Regions from separate parts of the Homo sapiens genome. Here all the other regions are linked to region 3. The links are contacts of gene promoters, found by promoter capture Hi-C in blood cells and fetal thymus (Javierre and others, 2016). All regions are on one chromosome and are shown on one strand. Each heading gives the region's core, a stretch centred on a gene start or on the middle of the fragment in contact. The rest is flanking DNA. Distances are from core to core; before and after follow the strand shown.

Region 1 (2,700 bases), core at 158-2,657, 150 kb before region 3:
CAAGAATCTGGAATTGGGACACTGAGAGACTGAGTGATTAGGTCATAGTAGTCACATGAACTGAAATGTCACCAGTTGTTACAACACCAAACCCAACGCCACATGTAGACTGATGTTAGAGAACACAGAACATGAGTAAGCAGGGGTTCTGAGATAGAATAAGGGGGAAGGGGGCAAATGGCAAACATGCAAGAAACAGAGAGAGAGCCCATCAAAATATAAGTTAGGTCCTGTCACTCCTCGGCTCAAATCCTGCCTTGTCTTATGTCATACGGAGTAAAAGTCAGTCTTCACAACTGACTACAGGCTGTAAGGAATCTTTCCTCCATCTCTCTGACTTCATTTTCCACCACGCTCTTTGACACTCATTCCAGTTTAGTCATCCAACCTTGTTTTTCCCTGAAGCCAGGCACATTATTGCCTCAGGGCCTTTGTACTTGCTCTTCTGCTTGGTATGCTCATCCGCAGTTTCCTGCCTGGTTGGCTCCCTCACCCTCCTTCAGAGTTTTGTTCAAACATCATCTTCTAGGCGAGGCCTGCCCTGAGCACCCTATTTAAAATTGCAATCCCGGCCGGGCACAGTGGCTCACGCCTGTAATCCCAGCATTTTGGGAGGCCAAGGTGGGTGGATTACTTGAGGTCCGGAGTTCGAGACCAGCCTGGCCAATATGGTGAAACCCTGTCTCTACAAAAATAACAAAAATTAGCTGGGCCTGGTGGTGGGCACCTGTAATCTCAGCTGCTTGGGAGGCTGAGGCAGGAGAATCACTTGAATCAGGGAGGCGAGGTTGCAGTGAGCCGAGATTGCGCCACAGCACTCCAGCCTGGGTGACACAGAGAGACTCTCTCTCAAAAAAATAAAATAAAATTGTAATCTTGGCCAGGAGCAATGGCTCACACCTGTAATCCCAGCACTGTGGGAGGCCAAGGCGGGTGGATCACTTGAGTACAGAATTTGGAGACCAGCCTGTGCAACACAGCAAAACTCCATCTCTACAAAAAATAGAAAAATTAGCTGGGCGCGGTGGTATATGCCTGTGGTCCCAGCCACTCTGGGGGCTGAAGTGGGAGGACTGCTTCAGCCCAGGAGGCAGAGATTGCAGTGAGCTGAGATTGCACCACTGCACTCCAGCCTGGGTGACAGAGCAAGGCCTTGTTTCAAAATAAATAAATAATAAAATTGCAATTCTGCCCTCACCCACATTCCCTATCCTCCTTTCTCGATGTATTTCTTCTCCATAGCACTATTTCTATGCCCTTCACTCTATTCCCTCCTTCTCCATTTGTTTAACATTTTTATTGATTTTGGGTTTATCTTTCGATTGTATCTTTTTACAAACATAAGCATTTATGTATACATTTTCATATCCTTTCCTGCTTCTTGTGCTAAAGGTGTATACCATAAGCACCATTTTGAACCAGCTTTCCTGGAGCTTCATGGAGATCTTCATCTCTTTTCTTTTTATTGATGCACAGTCCTCCATTATGTGGATGTATCATAGTTTTTTAAACTAGCCCCATATTGATAATATTTGGGTTGTTCTCAGTCTTTTGCTATTGCAAGTAATACCATAAAAAATAGCTATGTGCATAGGTCATTATATGTTTTAGCCAGTTTACTTTTAGAATAGATTCTTAGAAGCAAGATAAGTGGATAGCTCCCTTTTTAAATTGAGATGATACAAGAGGATTTCTGTTCATTATATCCAACAAGTCATGATTAAGATTGCTACCTGTCCCTGTAGGTACATCTCAAGTGACACTTCTTCTGGGAAAACTCTTATTCCAGGCAGAAGGAATCTACTGCTAGTTCCCTAATATGCCCTCAGGTAAAAATAAAAAACAATCCTTATATTTTATATTCTTTCTTGTTCGCATCACTCACATGGCACTTTTTACATGCTGCTTTGTATATACAGTAATTTATGTACCTCTGATCTCCTTAAATGGACAATAAGCTGCTACCGATTAAGAAGCACATTCTTTTTGATGTTTATCATCTCTGGTCCCTAACAATGTGCCTTGAACTGGTAATGGATGACTGAATGAATAAATACAACAGGTATTTGTAATCCTGCACGTGACAGTGCCCCATATAAAAGTGTCCATGTGATTTATGTTTCACATAACATACCAGAAAAAAAATCTCAAGTGGACTAAAGAGTTGAACATAAAAAAGGTAAAAAATAAGAAACTATAAGAAAAAAAGTAGTAATATTTATTACCTGCTTAGAGGTCAGTTAAAGGATTGTTTGAGCCTTATGCCTTTATTTTTTTTCTTTTTCCCTGAACTAGTCACTGCTTGAGAAACTTACACCTTTAAATAAGACTGACACAATAAAATGAGCCTGGAGCCCTGCAGCACATCATTTTGGATCCTCTTAAATAGCTCCTCCCCATATTCTCTCATGGTAACAATCCTAGCTGGTGGTCCTTCAAGGGATGATTAAATGTTCTTGCCCAAATCTAAGGCTCCAGAGTCAAGCCCATTGATACAGCCATGTGGAAGATCTGGCAACTACATTATTGTGCTCAGGAAGAACCTCACCTTCTGTGTGGAGGTTGTGGCCTTTCGACTGAGTGTAGGAGAAGTTACTTGTTCTATGTTCATATGCCCTGCCTGGACTCTAACAGGCTACACCTACTCTTAAAGGGGACCTTGTGCAACATTATGATGTAGCTCTGAATGCATCAGAGGTG
Region 2 (2,700 bases), core at 19-2,518, 190 kb before region 3:
TGGATCCTAAGTGTAGGTATTTTGATTAAGTGTCAAATGGCAAAGTAGCATGAGAATTTGACTGCTTCAGGTATAGGTAAAGTTAGAGGGGAACAGTGAGGGACAGAGAAGTTAGCTTCCCTCCTTCCTTGAATGACCTAGAGCTAGCTAGCTCCTGAGATCATAGAGAAAATAAACCCCCCGCTGTGTTTAGAATGAAATAGAAAAGTTCAGAATTCACAATAAAAACCAGCGAGTCATATCATAATATAGGTATGTACATATATCAATGGTTTTGTTCAAAGAATATTAAGTGAACAGTCACAATGATGTCAATGGTTTTGTTCAAAGAATATTAAGTGAACAGTCACAATGATGTCAATGGTTTTGTTCAAAGAATATTAAGTGAACAGTCACAATGATGTCAATGGTTTTGTTCAAAGAATATTAAGTGAACAGTCACAATGATGTATAGAACAAATTTCAATTGCTATATTTACAAATCCACAGACCTACTATATTAATACATTTTTTAAATTTACTCACTTCTTTCACTTAAATCCACTTAGTAAGGAAACCGAAAGTGCAAAGATGTGTTATTTCCTCCCTCTACCTCGTCCACTTTCAATCTCGACCTCCGACTCAGCCCCAGGCACTCAGCACCTAGCTCCTTCACGCATCCCCCTGCTGTTGGCCATCAGATAAATCCTCCTCACTCAGCTTGGGCTAGAGCTTTCTCTAGTGCTCCCAGGTGTAACTCCCAGCATGCTGTGGGAGTGGAATGTTGTGATGGACAGGAGCTCTGCCAAGTGGTCTGTCCAGAGCAGCAGCTATCCAATATAAATATAAGATGAGCCACACATGCAGGCCACATGTGTAATCGAAAGTGTTCTAATAACTACATTGAAAGAGGTAAAAAGAAATAGGCAAAATTAATGTTAATAAGGTATCTTATTTAAACCAATTTATCCAAAATATTATCACTTCAACATGTGATTGGTACAAAAAAATTATTAAGATGTTTTGCCTTCTTTGTACTAAGCTTTCACATTTTTGTGTATATTTTATACCTACAGCACACCTCACTTTGGATTCATCACTGTCAAGTGATTAATAGCCATGTGTGACTAGTGGCCCCAGATCTAGAGCATACCATGGTAGTACATTCACAGAAGGGTGAGCAGGGAAAACAACATTGTGTTAAATACTCCCAGGCATCACACTTTGGAAAACACTGCCGTTGGCGTTTCCATAGCCTGAGTTCATGATATAAAGGGATCCCTAGTCATTTTATATTAAATGAGATTCCTTAATTGACCCTAAAATTGCCCACAACCTCTTCAGAGAGATTGATTACCCTGTCCTAGGAAAGATCTTTCATACTGCAACAGATGCATCTAGATTCATCGTGGTCTGAATTGCCGTTCCTTTGGGCCATTGCTGAAACTAAGAAAAACTCTGAACTGGCAGCATTTGGTTAGATAATGGTTTCTGTTTTCCCTTCTATCTCCTGGCAAGTTTTGCAATTTTACAATCCAAAGCTTTCAAAGCTGTTGGTTGTCAATTAGCTGCTCCTATGGTATTTATACTGTACTCTAATTCTCATTTCAGGCCATGTGCATAGTCAACATGGAGTGTGAAAAAGACTATTTAAAGCATATATCCATTTTTTAAAGTTATCCTCACTACATGTAAAAATAGCATACACCCTGTCATCTTGAGTGAGAATTGTTTAGACTAGTCACACAGCTCTGCTATCTGAATCCACTAGGCCACAGAATTGCTCAACTCTGTTTGCCATTGACAATATAGGTCTGCTTAATTATGCATGTTCTGTTTTGTGTTTCAGTTTTTCTGAAAATAAAGGATATGAAAAATAACTGGTTATTTTTTTGCCATCTGTAGGCCAATGAGTTATGAAATCATAAAATAGAATTTCATAAAATAGAATTATAGATGATGAAAGGATTAGTGGCTCTTCAGGCAAAATCTGTCATATTTTAGATGAGGATAGTTCTTTTAAAAATATCTACAAGTCTTGATCTGGATTTTAATCCAGAGATTTTTGAAAAATAAAGATATTTTGAATTATTTATATTCTTAAGAAATAAGTAAAATAATTTTAACATCTCCCTAACTTAATATATTTGCTTAACAATCTTTTTTTTTTTTTTTTTTTTGAGATGGGGTCTCACTCTGTCGCCCAGGCAGGAGTGTAGTGGTGCAATCTCAGCTCACTGCAGCCTTGACCTCCCAGGTCCAAGCAATCCTCCCACTTTAGCCTCCTAAGTAGCTAGGACTACAGATGCCTACCATCATGACTGGCTAATTTGTATTTTTTATAGCGGCAGGGTTTCGCCATGTTGCCCAGACTGGTCTCGAACTACTGAGCTCAAGTGATCCACCTGCCTCGGCCTCCCAAAGTGCTGGGATAACAGGCGTAATCCACCACACCTGGCCCTTAACAATCATTTATTGAATCTCCCAGGTGCAAAGAAGACTGATAGATACAGAGACCATAAAAACAAACAATTCGATCCCTGTTTATATTTATTCTAATACATTATGATGGCAGATTACATGATTTGTAATGCTTTCAATAAACATCTAATAATATAGCTAACATGTTATTTATAATACATAAAGATACTTTTGTGGTTAACCACAGTGATGACATTAGTTAAATAACAAATTTAAATTTCAGCCAGAAATAAAGGCATT
Region 3 (2,700 bases), core at 53-2,552:
CCTCCTAGATTCTTGCAAAAGCTCTGCCCTCGTGGAATTTACAGTCCAAAAGAGAAAAAATAAATTATTTGTGATGAAGAGTGCAATATGCTTTGCATTTGCAAAGTCTTACTTTTCATAGTCTCCATCATCTTCATGAGATTTGGGGAGGAGGAAAGGCTCAGCCCACCCTTGGGTAATAGAAGTCACTCTGTGCCAGGACAGGAGTTAGGGAAAAGTTCCCAGATAGAAGAATTCACTATATCTTGGCTCCTTGTGAAAGCAACCCTGGGCTAAGACTGAGCCTTGATTTCATTCTAGAAATTCCTGTTGGTTTTTACAACTCAACTGACTATCACTTTATGGTCACCCCCAGGGAGCTAGATGCCTCCTTAACAGGCCCCACCTGGTTGGTAAGCAGCGAAATTATTTTCCTTTCTACATGCCATCTAGTGACTGACTTAAAAGTTGTTGCATCTCCATTCCTAAGAGCTCTGCTTTTGAATTGTTTTGGGATAAACCTGTCTCAAGCAGGGAATCTCAGCACTTTATTTCTTTTCAGTCCTTTAATCCTAATGCCAGGGCCTTACTCATAAAGCTTCGTAAATCTGTGGCCACTGAAATATCCTCTCTCCACCTGCCAATAACTTCTTAAACACACATTTTTCATGGAAATTGTTATTAGCCAAGCTCTTCTCTGCCCTCTTTAGGGACACATCGCCGTGCAGATTCAGCCAGGTACTTGTGGGTTCGGTTGATAAGACTGAGAATTCCTCGTTCCTCAGTTTCCTCGTTTGTAAAAATCGAGCTTGTAAAAATGGTATCTATCTCACGGCTTTGCTGTAAGAATCGAATGAAATAATGCACACGCACTTGCACAAAACCCGCTATATTATTATTACATTCTACTTTAAGACTGAAAATCATGCAAAAAATTGTTTGCAAATTCAAGCCAGATATCGTGTCCTGCTTACTAGAGAATCGCTCATATTAAGTCAAGCACCCCTCTTAGGGCTGCAGGCTATAGGAACAGTTTCTGCCATGAGCGTGCATCGATGAGGTTATCCACCCGCCCCCTCCACTTTGTGTGTCTGGGTCTCCAGATTTCATTATAAAGAGGCAGAGCCCATCAGAGAACTTGATCGGCAGCCAGGAACGGTTTTTTCCTGCTCTGGTCCTTTGTCAGGTCTTTGTTCCGCCCCTGGCTACACTCGATAACAGAACCACTTACTGGCGATTCACAGGAGGGGACCGGGCGGCAGGGCGGGGCGGGGCCTGCGGGGCGCGGGGCCGCGGCGCGGAGCCGGCGCAGCGATTGGGTTCACCCGGGGGGCCGCGCTGCGCGGAGTGCCAGGCTGCGGGCGGCTGCAGACCTGGGAGCGGAGACCGGCCCGCCGCCCCCGACGCCGCCGAGCACGTCAGCGGCGCGCAGCCGGGGCTCGGAGACCGACGGGCAGAACGACGGGCGGCGACTGCGGCGACCGCGGGACGGCGAGAGGCACGCGGCGGGAGGGGACCGGAATCCGCAGCTCCGGCCGCGCCATGGACGGCAACGACAACGTGACCCTGCTCTTCGCCCCTCTGCTGCGGGACAACTACACCCTGGCGCCCAATGCCAGCAGCCTGGGCCCCGGCACGGACCTCGCCCTCGCCCCTGCCTCCAGCGCCGGCCCCGGCCCTGGGCTCAGCCTCGGGCCGGGTCCGAGCTTCGGCTTCAGCCCCGGCCCCACTCCGACCCCGGAGCCCACGACCAGCGGCCTCGCGGGCGGCGCGGCGAGCCACGGCCCTTCCCCGTTCCCTCGGCCCTGGGCGCCCCACGCGCTCCCGTTCTGGGACACGCCGCTGAACCACGGGCTGAACGTGTTCGTGGGCGCCGCCCTGTGCATCACCATGCTGGGCCTGGGCTGCACGGTGGACGTGAACCACTTCGGGGCGCACGTCCGTCGGCCCGTGGGCGCGCTGCTGGCAGCGCTCTGCCAGTTCGGCCTCCTGCCGCTGCTGGCCTTCCTGCTGGCCCTCGCCTTCAAGCTGGACGAGGTGGCCGCCGTGGCGGTGCTCCTGTGTGGCTGCTGTCCCGGCGGCAATCTCTCCAATCTTATGTCCCTGCTGGTTGACGGCGACATGAACCTCAGGTACGGATCTGTCTATTCCTTGGGCATCTGTCTCATCCCAGACGCGCGTTTACGGCCGTGGGCTCACGACGAAGGACAGAGGCAGTGGAGGGGTTGGAATTAGGCGTGGAGGAAGGAGGAGAAAAGGAGAGGAAGTTGATGACGCCCCGGCTTTAGAAGTCAAGGCCGACCTGCAGGTTGTGCTGCTAGGGGAGCAAGCTAGACGGCGAGGGAGCTGCTCCAAGGCTGGGATTCCATGCGCAGCGCGGCCCTTCAGCAGGGTCCCTCGCCGTCCTCCCCGAGCGTCGGGGTGGCAGCGCAGGTCGTTGTCCAGTGGAAGACAAAGAGAAGGGGGAGTCTGAACTAGAACTCGCCGGCAACGTAAAAGTAAAATAGGGCTACTGGCCCGTCAGAGAAAGTAATCTCACATAGAGTGCAGGATTGTTGAGTCCGACCAACAAGTAGCAGTCAGCAGCTTTACCATGGCTTACCTTGCAGGGGGCTTGCAAGGAAGAACGTTCCTTCCCCTCAGAATCATCCAGGCTCAATAGACTTTATAATGTCGAGGGCAGCAGTACCGAGACAGGGGGCTTGTTTTTCCTCCCTGCCT
Region 4 (2,730 bases), core at 27-2,526, 220 kb before region 3:
CAATTTTTTTTTACTGATGGCAAGGAGAGTCCAAGGAGCACACCAGGTGTCTGAGAACCTCGGTGGCACCCAAAGATCAAACTTTTGCCTGGGGGAAGCAAGATGGTGTGTCAACAGCTCTGAGCCTAAAAAATGTCTTCTGGCTAGGACTCCAGAACTTATGAACAAGAATTATTTCATGCAATGCTTCTATAACTGGTTTAAGTATGTGACAAAGACACTGACAATCCTTAAAAAAATTCAAAAGCATGTATACCTAAATTTACATGTCTGACAGCATTCAAACCCAGTTAAATTGTATTTCTGTTTCCCTGCATGGTTGAAGGATCAAGCATTTTTATCACCCAAGCAGGAAAATGAAGAAATCAACTGCCTTCTACAAATCAAAAATAACCCTAATAGTAAAAACTAACTTTGTTGCATGCTTAAATCATATTGGCAGAAAAATGAAACTTTAAATCACTCTTGTAAGAAAAAAAGCCAGTTTCATTTTTGGGGCAGTCATATGGAAATCCCACAAGTCGTGGTTGAAACATAATATTGAGGAGTATGTGAGGACATTAAGAGTTTCTAAGGAAATAGTAACAAAAGATATCATTGGAATTCCATGAAGGATAAGAGAAGAAAAATCAAAGGTTTTTCCTACTAAATCACATTATAATGTCACCAAAATTAAAAATAAAAGGAGTAGGATACTTGACAGGGAGTTTCACCTTGTAAGTATCTCATATAGTACATGACAAGTTAAAGTCTGTCGCTTTGATACTCTATTGTAAGCATTTCAAGGTTAAAAGCTTTAACCTTGAAAAACAAATGACATATAGTTACAAAAGGCAAAAGTATATATTGTAGAAATCCAAACAAAAGTGTTCCTCCTTTAGAAACATAAAACTGATGAGATAACATAATGAATACTTACTTCCCTCCCTCCTCCAAAAGCCATTCTTTGTAGCCATAAAAACTAAGATAATCATAACACTATGCTAAGAAAAAATATACAGATGGAAAATAATGATAATAATGTATGTTGTCCTTTCAAGAATGTTTTCAGTGAAGAATATTTCTAAATAATACAAGAAACAATACACTTGAGAAAACTTAAATTGAATGCTCTATATTTCAATCCATATATAGACAAGTGATGTGAAAGTCTAATCAAGAATTTAGAGAATTTAGATTGTTGAGTACAACTTGGGTAATTGTGACCAAATGTCTCTTTTTTTTTTTTTGAGACGGAGTCTTGCTCTGTTGCCCAGGCTGGAGTGCAGTGGTGCGATCTCAGCTAACTGCAACCTCTGCTACCTGAGTTCAAGAGATTCTCCTGCCTCAGCCTCCCGAGTAGCTGGAATTACAGGCACGTGCCACCAGGCCCACCTAATTTTTGTATTTTTAGTAAAGATGGGGTTTCACCATATTGGCCAGGCTGGTCTTGAACTCCTGACTTCAAGTGATCCACCTGCCTCAGCCTTCCAAAGTGCTAGGATTACAGCCATGAGCCACCACTCTTGGCCCAAATATCATTTTTTCTTAACTATAAAGTGTCCAAAATTGTCTGGAAAATTCATTCAGTATATTAAGTACTTGCTTGGTACTATGCTTTCCCTAGGAAAGAACTTCTGTGAAGACCCAGTACATTACAGAAAAACTATACTGCCTGGAAAAGGGAGGTTCCAATGACTTCAAAGACTTCGTTTAGAAAAGGGAAGGATGCTTGTGGAAGCACAGTGGGAGGAATGAGCTCTGCAGTATCCCTACTAGCCAAGCTTTTGTTCACAATGGTGCCTAGTGGTACCTGCTGAAAAAGCCTTTTTAACCATCTGTCATCCTCCAAAGATAAAGTAATTGTTGCACCCACTCCATTGTCACAATCGCCAGCACTCCTGTTTTCTGTATTGCCAATGCATAGCTGCCATCATGGGAAGATCGAGCTTTGCTTTTTCTGCACAGATAAGATGGCTTAGGAACAATTATCCTCCTACTTTTGTGGAAACTGACTCTTGTCATCATGTGTGTAACCATAAAGAATGTTGATGTTACAAAGCAACTGGGAGAGCATGCTGGAAGTTCACAGCCCATTAAGGGAGCCTGAGGAATGACTCAACTGATGAAATGACGTTGGGAAAGTCGTGATCATCCACAAACGGCAGGGTACATCAGCCCAGCCAGAAACAGGAACTTGGTTCACATTCCAAGGAGGGCACAAGTGGAAAGGGAAGTAAGGGTGCTGCTGCTGGTAAGGCAGTTGTGTGATAAACTGGCCTCCAGAAGGAAATAATGATAACTTCCATTGAGGCCACATGGCCATCAATGACACCAATCCCATCTTTCAGATTAAAATAATATTGGACTTAATAGAAGCTGCACTTCACTGAAAGGTAAAACATTCAGAGGTCAAGATGGCAGAAAGAGTCATCCTACACAAAGTGAATTCAAGAAACAGGAACAATAGGCCAGGCGGTGGCTCACACCTGTAATCTCAGCACTTTGGGAGGCCAAGGCAGGCAGATCACCTGAGGCCAGGAGTTCGAGGCCAGCCTGGCCAACATGGTGAAACCCTGTCTCTACTAAAAATACAAAAATTAGCTGGGTGTGGTGGCGTGCACCTGTAATCCCAGCTACTCGGGAGGCTGACGCAGGAGAATCACTTGAACCCAGGAGCTGAGATCATGCCACTGCACTCCAGTCTGGGTGACAGAGCGAGACTGTCTCCACCCCCGCCAAAAAAAAGAA
Region 5 (2,711 bases), core at 84-2,583, 130 kb before region 3:
ACGCCATTATACTCCAGCCTGGGCGACAGAGCAAGACTCTGTCTCAAAAAAAAAAAAAAAAAGAAGATACCTTTAAGACAGAGTGCTAAGCTTAAGTGTGAGGAGATATTTAGCAGCGGAAGCATCATGAATGTTTTCCCTTTAAGTCTGTGGCACATTTCTCTGAATATCCTCAGTAATGGCCAGTTGTTTTCCTCTTGAGGGTAGGTTTGAATTTTGAAAACCATTAGAAGTCATTATCTTGCCTGGTGAATAAAAATGAGTTAGCAGGGTATTTAAAAGTCCTCAGCAGTCCAGCGCTAATTTACTTTTTTCCTAGATTTACTTGCTTTTGCCAGAACCTTCAAGAACATTTATGCCCTTTGGCTTTTGATGTTCATCTGTTTTTTTCTCTTCCTCCTCTTACCAAAATTTTACTTATTCTTCAGGCACAATGCAGATTTTCTTTCCTTTGTGAAATTCTCCTGAATTTTTAACTTGGTTTACTTCCTCTTCATTGTTAACCTATCACTGTTTATATACCCTTTTTTAGAGTATATTTAACGCAACCACCTTGTGCTTTGGTCTGTGTAGTCTAGAATGTGAGCAGTTTAAGCAGAAGGATAGTAGCATATTCATCTTTATGTTTCTGAACAGGACCACAGTGTAGTAAGAGTTCAGTGACATTAATTTAAATGAAATCAATCTATCAGTGATGTTAGGTTAAAATGAGGCAAAACTGTAAAACAGTGAGACCAGATTTCTTACATGACGCTTATGCCAGTTACAGATGAGATACTTCACAGATTCTGAATAATGGCAGTATTGAATGTATACTTTCCCATGATGAATTAAAGAAGAAAATACTGTCTAGATGTAGTGTGTGATTTTTAAAATAAGTTTAAAAATTAGCCAAAATACTGGCATCGCTCTGTTTAGTAGGATTACAGAAGCACTTTGTTTTAAACTTCTTTGTACTTTTTGTGATTTCCAAGTTTTCTGATAAGACATGAATTGCTTTTAGAATTTAAAAAATCCTATTGATAAAATTTAAGTCAGTTTTATTACTCTGTGATCATGTGGGGATCATAATATAACATGATACATTAGAAGCCTTTTTACTTGTAGTTTTCCTTGTTACTTAGTAGTAGTAAGATTATATATCACAGATGGATACATTTTGGCTTCAACAAATATGGTTTCATTTATTGAGTAACTGCCATAGGTGGAGCACTGTGCTGTAATGATAGCACATTTTTGATAGAATTGGAACCCAAGATATGTATTTGATCTTATGATCTATTATTCTTGTTTGTTTTAAATTTAACAATTTAATTGGGCAAAAAAAACATTTATTGAACTGGGTAGCACCCAGGACCGAAAGTGATTTAGAATGCTTCTTAGAATGTTCTTAACTTTACACTTAAAAAATTAAATTCCACAAGTGTAACTATTAAAACATTTATCAGATCTACCTAAATAAATCATGTAGTCTGTTTTCATGAAAAACACAACTTTGGTTTTTAGGAATATCAGATAAGGAACACCAAAGTTGTATAGCTCACATCCTGTGAGCCTTCTGGATCACTGATGTTGCTACTGCTCCTCAGTCCCCATCTTTGGGGCCTCCGTGTATTCAAATTCCTATGCCAGATTGCCCAGGGAACCTGGTGCTGATACCCTGGTAGCCCAAAAAGGCTACTTGCCTTCTACTTCCACTTACGCAGACCCCTGCCTCCTTACCCTTCTGCTAGGAACATATCTATAACTATATAAATTCATGTAATTTTGACATTATTTTTTAAAATGGCAATTTGGGCAGTAAATAGCAGAATTAAGTAGTGTCTTAATATAAATGGTTTGCATTACCTGAATACACTATTCCTTGTAGTAATTATCTGTACTACCCAGAGCACATTGCATGTGACTCCTGTTGGGCTAATTTTCAGTAGCAAAAATGAATTTGTAAAATAATGTAGGTTTTAAGGCTTTGGTAATAATAAGTTCTTATTTCACCTCTTTCATTTACTCAAAATTACGTCTTCTGAGATCTTTTGGGATCGAAGTTATGGAGGAAATGAACAACTTTAGGACAAACTAGCTTATTTAAGAGGAAGGCTTTAAACTAGGTCTTTAGGAGTGGCTCAGAAATTGCAGAACAGTTTACTTTGATCTGGGAAAGGTCTCACATTCTGGAATAAAATAGAAATTAGAGACTTTAGAGAAAAAAATATTGATTCTATCTCCTTGAAATATGAAGAATAATAGATGCAATATAATGTAGTACCACGGTATCAGATATGAAATTCTTGAAAGTATTTGGAAAGATAAGACAAAGGAAGTTGTATTTAGTTAAAAATCAGGTTTATAATTCATGAGGATGAATCAAATCATCTCCCACTTCTGCAGTGTACTAGACTGAAACTCCTCCCCCACACATCCCTCTCCTACTCCATTCAGGAGCTTCTGCTCCTCTCTCTGTGAGACAGTAAGAAAGTACCCAATTATGTGTGGCTCTTGAGGCTTATTTTGTTTGAAAAGTGTGAATGAGAACCAGGAGTGGGCCAAGCTAGTCTGTAAGTGACCCTTGACTCCAATAAGCTTGAGGAATGGGATTTAATAGGTACTCTCAAGTTAGGTTTTTAGTATGCATTTAATACCTAATCGGTACTATATTCTATAGTGATAATCAGACTAAATTGTGTGTTTTTGCTAATACCTATTTAGTAGAT

Evidence for each region. Contacts are between HindIII fragments. The CHiCAGO score rates a contact against its expected background, and 5 or more counts as called.
Region 1: a fragment that was not itself captured here is called in contact with the fragment with the promoter of SLC10A4 in region 3 in 2 of 17 cell types (megakaryocytes and erythroblasts); the score reaches 6.4 in megakaryocytes.
Region 2: a contact is called between a fragment that was not itself captured here and the fragment with the promoter of SLC10A4 in region 3, in 1 of 17 cell types (megakaryocytes). The highest score is 7.5, in megakaryocytes.
Region 4: a fragment that was not itself captured here is called in contact with the fragment with the promoter of SLC10A4 in region 3 in 1 of 17 cell types (erythroblasts); the score reaches 7.0 in erythroblasts.
Region 5: a contact is called between a fragment that was not itself captured here and the fragment with the promoter of SLC10A4 in region 3, in 1 of 17 cell types (erythroblasts). The highest score is 5.7, in erythroblasts.

What each region holds. Positions count from the first base shown.
Region 1 is chr4:48,331,733-48,334,432 of GRCh38, forward strand. No RefSeq gene overlaps it. Among named protein-coding and RNA genes, the nearest start is that of SLAIN2, 8.4 kb to the right of the region's middle. The HindIII fragment of the contact is 5,021 bases long and covers 1-2,700 here.
Region 2 is chr4:48,295,888-48,298,587 of GRCh38, forward strand. No RefSeq gene overlaps it. Among named protein-coding and RNA genes, the nearest start is that of TEC, 27 kb to the left of the region's middle. RefSeq lists an enhancer at 1-973. The HindIII fragment of the contact is 499 bases long and covers 1,020-1,518 here.
Region 3 is chr4:48,482,041-48,484,740 of GRCh38, forward strand. It overlaps SLC10A4 (solute carrier family 10 member 4), which reads left to right and starts at 1,303. Exons shown (of 3, transcript NM_152679.4): 1 at 1,303-2,111. The coding sequence starts at 1,522. RefSeq lists silencers at 1,223-1,272, 1,353-1,482. The HindIII fragment of the contact is 5,112 bases long and covers 576-2,700 here.
Region 4 is chr4:48,260,986-48,263,715 of GRCh38, forward strand. The region is part of intron 1 of TEC (tec protein tyrosine kinase); the gene reads right to left. Among named protein-coding and RNA genes, the nearest start is that of TEC, 7.5 kb to the right of the region's middle. The HindIII fragment of the contact is 969 bases long and covers 793-1,761 here.
Region 5 is chr4:48,348,645-48,351,355 of GRCh38, forward strand. All of the region lies in intron 1 of SLAIN2 (SLAIN motif family member 2), which reads left to right. Among named protein-coding and RNA genes, the nearest start is that of SLAIN2, 8.5 kb to the left of the region's middle. The HindIII fragment of the contact is 2,490 bases long and covers 89-2,578 here.